Linked DNA regions of Homo sapiens: all the other regions are linked to region 1. The links are contacts of gene promoters, found by promoter capture Hi-C in human tissues and cell types (Jung and others, 2019). All regions are on one chromosome and are shown on one strand. Each heading gives the region's core, a stretch centred on a gene start or on the middle of the fragment in contact. The rest is flanking DNA. Distances are from core to core; before and after follow the strand shown.

Region 1 (2,717 bases), core at 91-2,590:
AAGCCTCTGGGGATTTTGAAGTAAGGGAAACAAGAAGCCAGCTAGAAATGGGCCCTTTCTACCTGTCATTCGGTCTCAGTAAGAGGAAGAAAAACAATTTCTTCCTTTTGCAACGAAGTGATTACAGAGGTCTCCCCTTGGACCCTGATTTTCACCGCCCCTCGCCCCACAAATGCAGGCAAAGGCACTATCCCTTCCAATTTTATAATCTACTCATTTCTGTACGTGCGGGTTTATCTGGCTTGGTGGCAAGCCAAGGGTGGGTGGGGAGAGGCATTAAAACCTGGCAACCCCGCTCCCCCATCTCCGGATGCCGCAGGGCTCCTGCCAGCCGTCCTCGGTTAAAAACGTGCTTATGGATTATTTCACTTCCCTGCAGTTCATGTGCAGCCGCTCATTACCACCCGCTTCAATCACCGCTGCCAGCATCTCCCCTGAACGTTTTTCCCTCCCCCGATTTCAGGGCCATTGGTCATAACCGACATTTAAAGGAAATAAACACTGATTTAAAAAATTACAACACCCATCTCTGCCTGAAGAGCCCAGAAGCAATGAATAACAGAACAGTCCGGCGAAGAGAGCCTGTCGGATCTTAGCTCCGCCAGCCCTTCCTGCCTTACAATTCCCCACAACCGAGCAGCACAAATCACCATTTCCAGGCACCACTCGAGTCTGCCAATTCCACTTTCGCTTAATCTCATTTTAAAATCCTCTACAGATGAGGCTCTGTCGCTGCCGCGAGGGGCCGGGCGGCCGCGGCGGGAGGGACAGGGGGCCTGGGTGGGAAGGGAGCGCGAGGGCCCCTAGCGGTTCGCGGCCTCGGGCGGATTCCCAGAACGAGTGCGGGCCGCCCGGACTGGCAGACTGCGAGCCCCGAGGGGCGCGGGACGCAGCCGGCTCAGACAAAGAAACCGGCGCCAGCGGCCGTCCCTGCCGCCCCTCTCCTTCCCTCACGCATCCTCCCAGGAAAAACAGGGCACACTGACGGCCAAAGGGGCTGGCCTTCCCCTTCAGACAGCTGGACGGGAGGTGCCCTCTGCGGGGCTTTGACGTCCCTCGCAGAAGAGTCGCGGGCTCAGCGGTCCTCGACAGCGTCCCCGTCCCGCTCCCCGGCGGGCGCCCCTCCCTGTCCTCCCGGGTGCGAACCGGGCGCTGGCCGGGGACTCCGGGGACGCGTGCGCCCCTCGCCGCGCGAGGTGCCGCCGAGCCAGCCCGAGAGGGCGGGGGGCGGGCGGGGCGGCGCGCGGGGGCGGGGGAGCGGCCGGGACACGTGTGGCGGCGGCGGGGGGGACGCGGCGCCCGGGGCTTTAAGAAGGTGTGGAGCGGGGCGGGCGCTTTCCCAGGCCTGGCCGAGGGGCGTCGCGCAGAGGCGGCGGCGGCGCACGGAGGCGGCAGACGACGCGCTCTCGGCGCCCGCAGCCCCGGTCCCGCGCTCCCGCGGCCCAAAGTAACTTTGGGAGCCGCCGTCTCCCGCGGAACTTCTCGGCGGGGGCCCGCTCCCAGGCCCGCTCCCGAGCCCGTTCCGCTCCCGTCCGCCTTCTTCTCGCCTTCTCTCCGCGTGGCTCCTCCGTCCCGGCGTCTCCAAAACTGAATGAGCGAGCGGCGCGTAGGGCGCGCGGCGGCGGCGGCGGCGGCGGCGGCATGGAGCGCAGTGGCTGGGCCCGGCAGACTTTCCTCCTAGCGCTGTTGCTGGGGGCGACGCTGAGGGCGCGCGCGGCGGCTGGCTATTACCCCCGCTTTTCGCCCTTCTTTTTCCTGTGCACCCACCACGGGGAGCTGGAAGGGGATGGGGAGCAGGGCGAGGTGCTCATTTCCCTGCATATTGCGGGCAACCCCACCTACTACGTTCCGGGACAAGAATACCATGGTAGGTACCGCAGCACCTCCGCGCTCGCCGCCGCCGGGTGCGCCCGCCAGCGCACCTTTCTCATCCCTTTCCTTCTTCCAAGGGGCCTTGGAAACAAGAACCATGACAACCCTGGCCCCAGCGATGCGCTTGGTCCAGGGAGCGAGAATAAAGTTAGTGGAGAATGGAGTCACAAGTTGGGATTCATTCTCCATGTCCCCACTCCCCGAACGCATCTCCTGGTAATGAGCTGGTGCTTGTGCTAAACGCCTGAGAATTCTTGGAGGCCGGTGTCTTTCCCCCTCACTCCCCGTACTTACCGCAGGCACTTTAAATTGAACCTGCGCATTTTGTTTCTTTACTCCTAGGACTTGGATTTCAGACCTTTGTCCTGCTCCCGGTCCCCCCAGATGGGTCCCCGGGGGGGCGTTGGGGGCTGTCGCTGGGCTTTGCGGGCAGGCTGGTGACAGATTGAAGCGCCCAGGTCTGTGGCTGCCCCGCGCCGCTCGACCGCAAAGTTCCCGCTGCTCACCAGCCAGGAGTCCCTGGCATTTCATTCAGTGTCATACAGCCCTCCTGAAAGGGAGCGGCTGCTTCCAGCTCCCTATTCTTTTGAAAGTGTGATTTAATATGTCAGTAATTGATGATTTTTCTGATTCCTGCCTTACTTTTACATGGTGCTTCTTGTTAGAATTATCTTTGTGATGTTTATTAATGACTTTGTATTTTATCTGCACAGCTTTAATTTCCAGGTAGAGGCTGGAATCCCTTATAATTTAGAGGTATCTTAAAAATGGAATCATTATGCAGCCCTGCATCAAAAATAAACATTACAGAAGAAATAAAATTTAGCTCCAAGAAATATAATATT
Region 2 (2,934 bases), core at 394-2,893, 46 kb before region 1:
ATGCATTTTTTTTTCTTTTTTGAAATGCAGTCTCCCTCTATTGCCCAGAATGGAGTGCAGTGGCGCAATCTCAGCTCACTGCAACCTCTGTCTCCTGGGTTCAAGTGATTCTCCTGCCTCAGCCTCCTGATTAGCTGGGACTACAGGCATGTGCCACCATGCTAGGCTAGTTTTTTTGTATTTTTAGTAGATATGGGGGTTTCACCATATTGACCAGGCTGGCCTTGACCTCCTGACCTCGTGATCTGCCCACCTCAGCCTCCTAAAGTGCTGGGATTATAGGCATGAGTCACCGTGCCCAGGCTTTGATGCTGTTTTTTATCTACAGCTAAGAAAAACCTGGGACTTTAATGTGGTTGTTCAAGGTTCTTCTTTTGCTCTTTTTGTTTTTTTCTCTTATTGGTAATCTTACTAATGTTCAGCATTTCCACTATGGCCTTTGCAAGGCTCTCTCTGATATTCATGTTTCTATCCCTGACCTCCCTCCTAACCTTCATTCAGGCCACCTTTCTCCATAAGCAAGCCCTGCAGGGATCCTCAAACTTAGGATTCAGTTTGAATCCAATTCAGACTTCACTCCCAATATATCTATTTTTCTTGCCTGCTTCTCTATTTTTCAAGTTTCCCTGCACCTTCACACTTTTTGGGCCTTCACTTAATATACTCTCTCTGCCCTGAGAGCCCCATGTTAGACTTTCCTCACCTTCAAGGTCCAGAACAGGTCTTTCCTCCTCAAGAAACGTTCCAGTCAGGTGCAGTGGCTCACACCTGTAATCCCAACACCTTGGGAGGCCAAAGTGGGAGTACTACTTGAGCCCAGGGGTTTGAGCCCAGGGGTTGCCCAAAGTGGGAAGCATAGTAAGATCCCACCTCTACAAATTTTTTTTTTTAAATTAGCCAGGCATGGCAGCAAATGCCTGGGGTCCTAGTTATTCAGGAGGCTGAGTTAGGAGGGTCCAGGAGATTGAGGCTTCAGTGAGCCATCATTACACCACTCCACCCCAGCCTGGAGAAGAGAGCAGGATCCCATCTCAAAAAAAACACAGCATTCCCAGTAGAAGGTATTTTCCTTCCTTCCATTCCTTTCTTATAGACCTTTTCATGGTCTGTCTTGATTGACATTATTTTTGTTTATATGTGTCTCTTCCTTCTGAACCTGAGAATGCACAAGTGCACTGCAGGAGTTTCTGAATCTTTTGAAATTGTATGCAAAATGTTGCCGGTATTTAAGTGCATGTTTCTAGACCACTGACTTCAAAATCACCTGAGGAATTATATATGTATATTTAGAGCTAAAAGTGCATATCCCTTGTGAGGCTGAGGCAGGAGAATCGCTTGAACCCAGGAGGTGGAGGTTGCAGTGAGCTGAGATCGCGCCACTGCACTCCAGCCTGGTGAAAGACCAAGCCTCCGTTTCAAAAAGCAAAACAAAAAAACCACAACCAACAACAAAAAACAAAATGCATATCCCAGGGCCCTATCACAGGCAACTGAATTCAAGTCTCTGGAGGTGTGAAAGTTGTAGATAATGAGATGAAATCACCTTTGCCAGACCTAGACAAAATAAGGCCAGAAACACATGAAGGGGAGAGGAGGCACATGCTTTCATGTCCAAAATAAGAACTGTTTCCAAGGGCTTTCAAAAAACTCCCCAAGAAACTCGTTTGCATCCTTCACACATCACCTGCCTATGACAAGGTTTATCACTAGACATTCTTTAGGACTGCCGTAATTCAGATAAGATGCTTGCGAAAGAACACTTACCCAGTGACATTTTCACCAATGAACTGACATTCACTGTGGCTTTGAGCCTCTGGAATGAATGAACTCTGTTTTTTGCTGTCTCGTTTTTCTAATGCCACATCTTAACACATGTTATCAGGGACACAAGCATCAAATATATATTTGAGACCAATAACTGATATTGACTGAAACTGAATCCCAGAATCAAAGTCTTTTTTCAGAGCCAGAAAGAATGACAGACAGGTGAAAGATAATGTTTATTGAGTAATTCTTCTGTGCCAGGCACACTTCTAAGCACTTTACAAATATTAACTCATTTAATCCTCACAACAACCCAATGACCAAGTTGCTATTATTGGCAACATTTTAGGATAAGGAACCTGAGGCACACAGAAGTTGAGCAACTTCCCCAATGTCACACAGCTGTCAGGTGGCAGGCTGGTATTGAAGTCAAAGTCATGCGCTTCCAGACCTTACATTTCACCTCTGCATTTTATATTTATCTAGGTTATTCTAATGCAGGCTAACCTCTGAGAACCACTGCTTTAGACTGTTAAATAAAATAGGAGTGCAAATACCTGAGATCTAATCATCCTACTGTTATAAAACCAACAGGTTTGTGTGTCCATTGTGCAGTAACAGACCAATGCACTGAGACAACAGGGATGCAACTGAGAAAGAGTTTAGTGATTGCCAGGCACTGAGCCAGGGGATGGGAGGAGACCCTCAAATCTATTTCCCTGAGGAGTTCTGGGATAGGGTTTTTAAGGGGATCATGGAAGGTGAGGGGCTGGAAAATTGGGATTGTTGATTGGTCGGGGCAAGGGGGATGATATAATCAAGATGTGGAAACTGCTTTCTTTGGTGAATTGGCTCCTCATGGGGTTCTTCAGACTAGCTGAGTCAGTAGTTTCATCAGCATACAGGACCTGAAGGTCCTAAAGCAATATCTCAAAGGGAAAACAACATTTAATAATGTTCAAGTTGTTATCTATAGAGCAGTTAAGGGGAACTCTAATCTTGTAATAGGATCTACATGATTCTGAGGTAACAGGCACCAAAAGACTATGAGGAAGTAGTCAGAGAGCAAGCTCACCTCATGATTAATGCTGAATGTGCTGCAAACTTGGTTTATTTTCATTTCTCCCTCTCTCTTCTTCCCTGATTAATTTTATAAAGTTTATAGGGGTC
Region 3 (3,077 bases), core at 382-2,881, 43 kb after region 1:
TAAATGTTTAAAAATGTTTCACATGTTGTATTGAATATTCTTATTGCATTAATGATTATAATGGTTATAGACACTAACAGTGTTAAACATCAATATACTTGTAAATATGCTTGTTTATGCCTTTGTGTATCTGTTCTGAATTTTCATTACTGAAACAAAAGTAATGTTATTCATCTGATGAAAATGATTATTTTTTATACCTTTTTCTTTGTTGTAGTTTTGCTATCTGTGTAGACAGAAATTAGCTTATTTTAAAAAAGGAAAAAGATCATTTCATGCTAAAAATCCATATCAATGTGAAAAAGTTAGAAATTTCAGAGGAACAAATGCCATTGCAACTATAATTCTCCTAAGCATGATTGACATTGTAAGGGGTAATATTTAATATATGATAATTTCTCATTTACATATGCACTAGAGTCAGATTGCAGCTGCACTGGGAAATATAATTTTTATATTTTATGAATGGAATATTTCTGTTGTAACACACAACATTTTACTATGTTACTGTATTTACTTGCTGGGACTGCTGTAACAAAGTACTACAAACTGGGTGGCTTAAATAACAGAAATTTATTGTCTCACAGCTCTAGAGGATAGAAGTCTGAAATCCCCAGGCAGATTTCTTCTAGAGCTGTGAGACAATAAATGAGAGAATGATCTATTCCAGGCCTTTTTCCTTGGCTTGTAGATGGCTATCTTTTCCATATGTTTCTTCATATTGCATTCCTTTTATGCATGTCTGTCATTAGATCTAACATTTGTCTTTTTGTAGGGATATCAGTCTTATTGAATTAGGATCCACCCTAATGATCTCACTTTAACGTGTTTACCTCTGTAAAGACCCTATCTCCAAATAACATCACATTCTGAGTATTGAGGATTAGGACTTAAGCAAATGATTACTTTGAAGGGAACCATGATTCAACCTGTTACAGTCACCACTGTTTTGTATCTGGTGCACAAAAGTACTTCCCTGCTAGGGTTAAAAGAACTGAATATGTTGTAAGGTATAATGAGTCACAGTTGATTTCCTTGAGACTTTTGAATGATGAGATATATGTAAGAATAAAGCATTATGACTGTTGTTTAGTTTTTAAATGCCAACATTAGTTTTAAGATGGCTGAGAGGACTCGGAATGGGTGAATTCATTTGGGGGGATATTATCCTATTATTTCCACAGCTAGTGTTTAGAAGATTTACTAGACTAACATTCTGACACTAATACTTTATACTGCCTAAAATGCCTTTAGCATACCACTTACATTTGTCTAGGGGAGTTCATGAAAACCAGATTTTTAGTAAGCTTCTACAAATAATTCATCATGGATGAAAGGCAATCACATTGCAAAAGCGCTTACTTCTGCTTATCATGAGTGTTTTTTATTATCTTTTTGCATCTGAGACAAATGTGTCAAGAATTTCATCAAAAGCTTAATGCATTACAATCACGTTCTCCTCCAACATACAGATCACTGTGGATTCCATAACCAGAATTCTAAGAAAGTATATAGCAACTCTATTGTTATTCAGTTGTAAGAGACATAGTAAAGTGTAATAATTCCAAGAGACTGTAGAAGCACTAGCATTAAATATTAAACATTTAAATGAGGAAGTGCTGATTAATTCATAATATTCTGAGCAGCTCATGAATGTTTAATACTCATATCTTGCCTTGATTGGATATTATTTAACTGAAGCCATGGTCACTATAGAACTACTTAGTTACCATTTTAAATTACAGACCCAGTTTACAAAATGATTCGTTTTATTTTAGGTAAATACTAATTTGAACTTCTCACCTTTTTTTTGTTCAATGTTTCATAAACTAGAGCAGAATGAAAAATTAAAGGTTTATCTGTTAAACATTTTAAGCCATAGTTATCTTAAAAAGTTGTAGTTGAGGTTAAGTTTGCATAGTTTTAATAAGTGAGTAATAATAATAGTTTTAATTAGTTTTAGTAAGTAAAAGTACCTTAGGATAACTTTACATTGATTTCAATTTTTAGGTGTTCTACTATCATTAAGTAGATATTATTCAGCACCTATTATGCGCTCAGCACTGGGAAAACAGTAGCACTGAACAAGGCAAACACAGTCAGTGCTTTATGAAGCTTCTGGTCTTTTGAGAGATTTAGAGATTGAACAAGTAATCACAGCCATGCATTGCTTAACAATGGGGATGTATTCTGAGAAATGTGTCATTAGCAATTTTGTCATTTTGTGAACATCAGAGTGTACGGCACTTACAAACTTAGATGGTGCAGCCTAGGAGACACCTAGGCTGTGCAGTCCAGCCTTGTTGCTCCTAAGCTAAAACCTGCACAGAATATTACTGCACTGAATACCAGAGGCAATGGTAACATAATGGTAAATGTTTGTGTATCTAAAGATACCTGAATGTAGAAAAGGTACCGTAAAAATATGGTATTATCATCTTAGGGGACCATTGCCGTATATGAGGTCCATCACTGGCCAAAATGTCTTTACGTGGCTCTTGATTGTACTCAAATAATTATTTAATTACAGTATGGTAAGTGCTAAGCAGGAGGAGTGTGAGGTTTTGAGGGAATATTTAATGGAGTTTGTAACCTGGTTACGGGGATTAGGGAAATCTTCCCTGAGGAAAAGGAAGTATCATGTGGCTTGTTGGCCAGAGGAACAGCTAGAAGGAAGAGCATTCTTTGCAGGGAGGGGGACCATACATGAAGGCCTGAAGGCTCGTCTGTCTTCGGTAGGGGGTAAACTGAATCAGGTATGAAGGCCAAAATAATACTACAGTTGAGAACTGGTTTTCTTAACAGATTAGGATCAGCTGTTGGAAAGTGTCTGAGAGGCCTAGAGAATCAGGAGTGTAATCTCTGTAATAATGGATTATGAGTGTTCATGGTCAAGACTGATCCTAGGTAAGGGAATAAAATGACAGGATTTCTTTGGCAGGGGTTGGGTTAGGTGAATTTTGTCAATTTTGTCAAATTGGTCAATTTTGTTCTGCTGTTCTTTCCCCTTGTAGGTCTTTTGAGAGCTCCCTCTGGGAGCTCCCAGTATTTGCCATGTAATTCAGAGACTCTTGCTA

The links. Contacts are between HindIII fragments. The study calls those that stand out against the background at their distance.
Region 2: a contact is called between a fragment that was not itself captured here and the fragment with the promoter of RELN in region 1, in 2 of the 25 tissues and cell types used here (pancreas and thymus).
Region 3: a contact is called between a fragment that was not itself captured here and the fragment with the promoter of RELN in region 1, in 6 of the 25 tissues and cell types used here (bladder, heart left ventricle, hippocampus and 3 more).

Annotation. Positions count from the first base shown.
Region 1 is chr7:103,988,281-103,990,997 of GRCh38, reverse strand. RELN (reelin) reads left to right here and starts at 1,340. Exons shown (of 65, transcript NM_005045.4): 1 at 1,340-1,867. The coding sequence starts at 1,642. The HindIII fragment of the contact is 8,012 bases long and covers 1-2,717 here.
Region 2 is chr7:104,034,355-104,037,288 of GRCh38, reverse strand. No RefSeq gene overlaps it. Among named protein-coding and RNA genes, the nearest start is that of RELN, 46 kb to the right of the region's middle. The HindIII fragment of the contact is 9,244 bases long and covers 1-2,934 here.
Region 3 is chr7:103,945,122-103,948,198 of GRCh38, reverse strand. The region is part of intron 1 of RELN (reelin); the gene reads left to right. Among named protein-coding and RNA genes, the nearest start is that of RELN, 43 kb to the left of the region's middle. The HindIII fragment of the contact is 3,688 bases long and covers 1-3,077 here.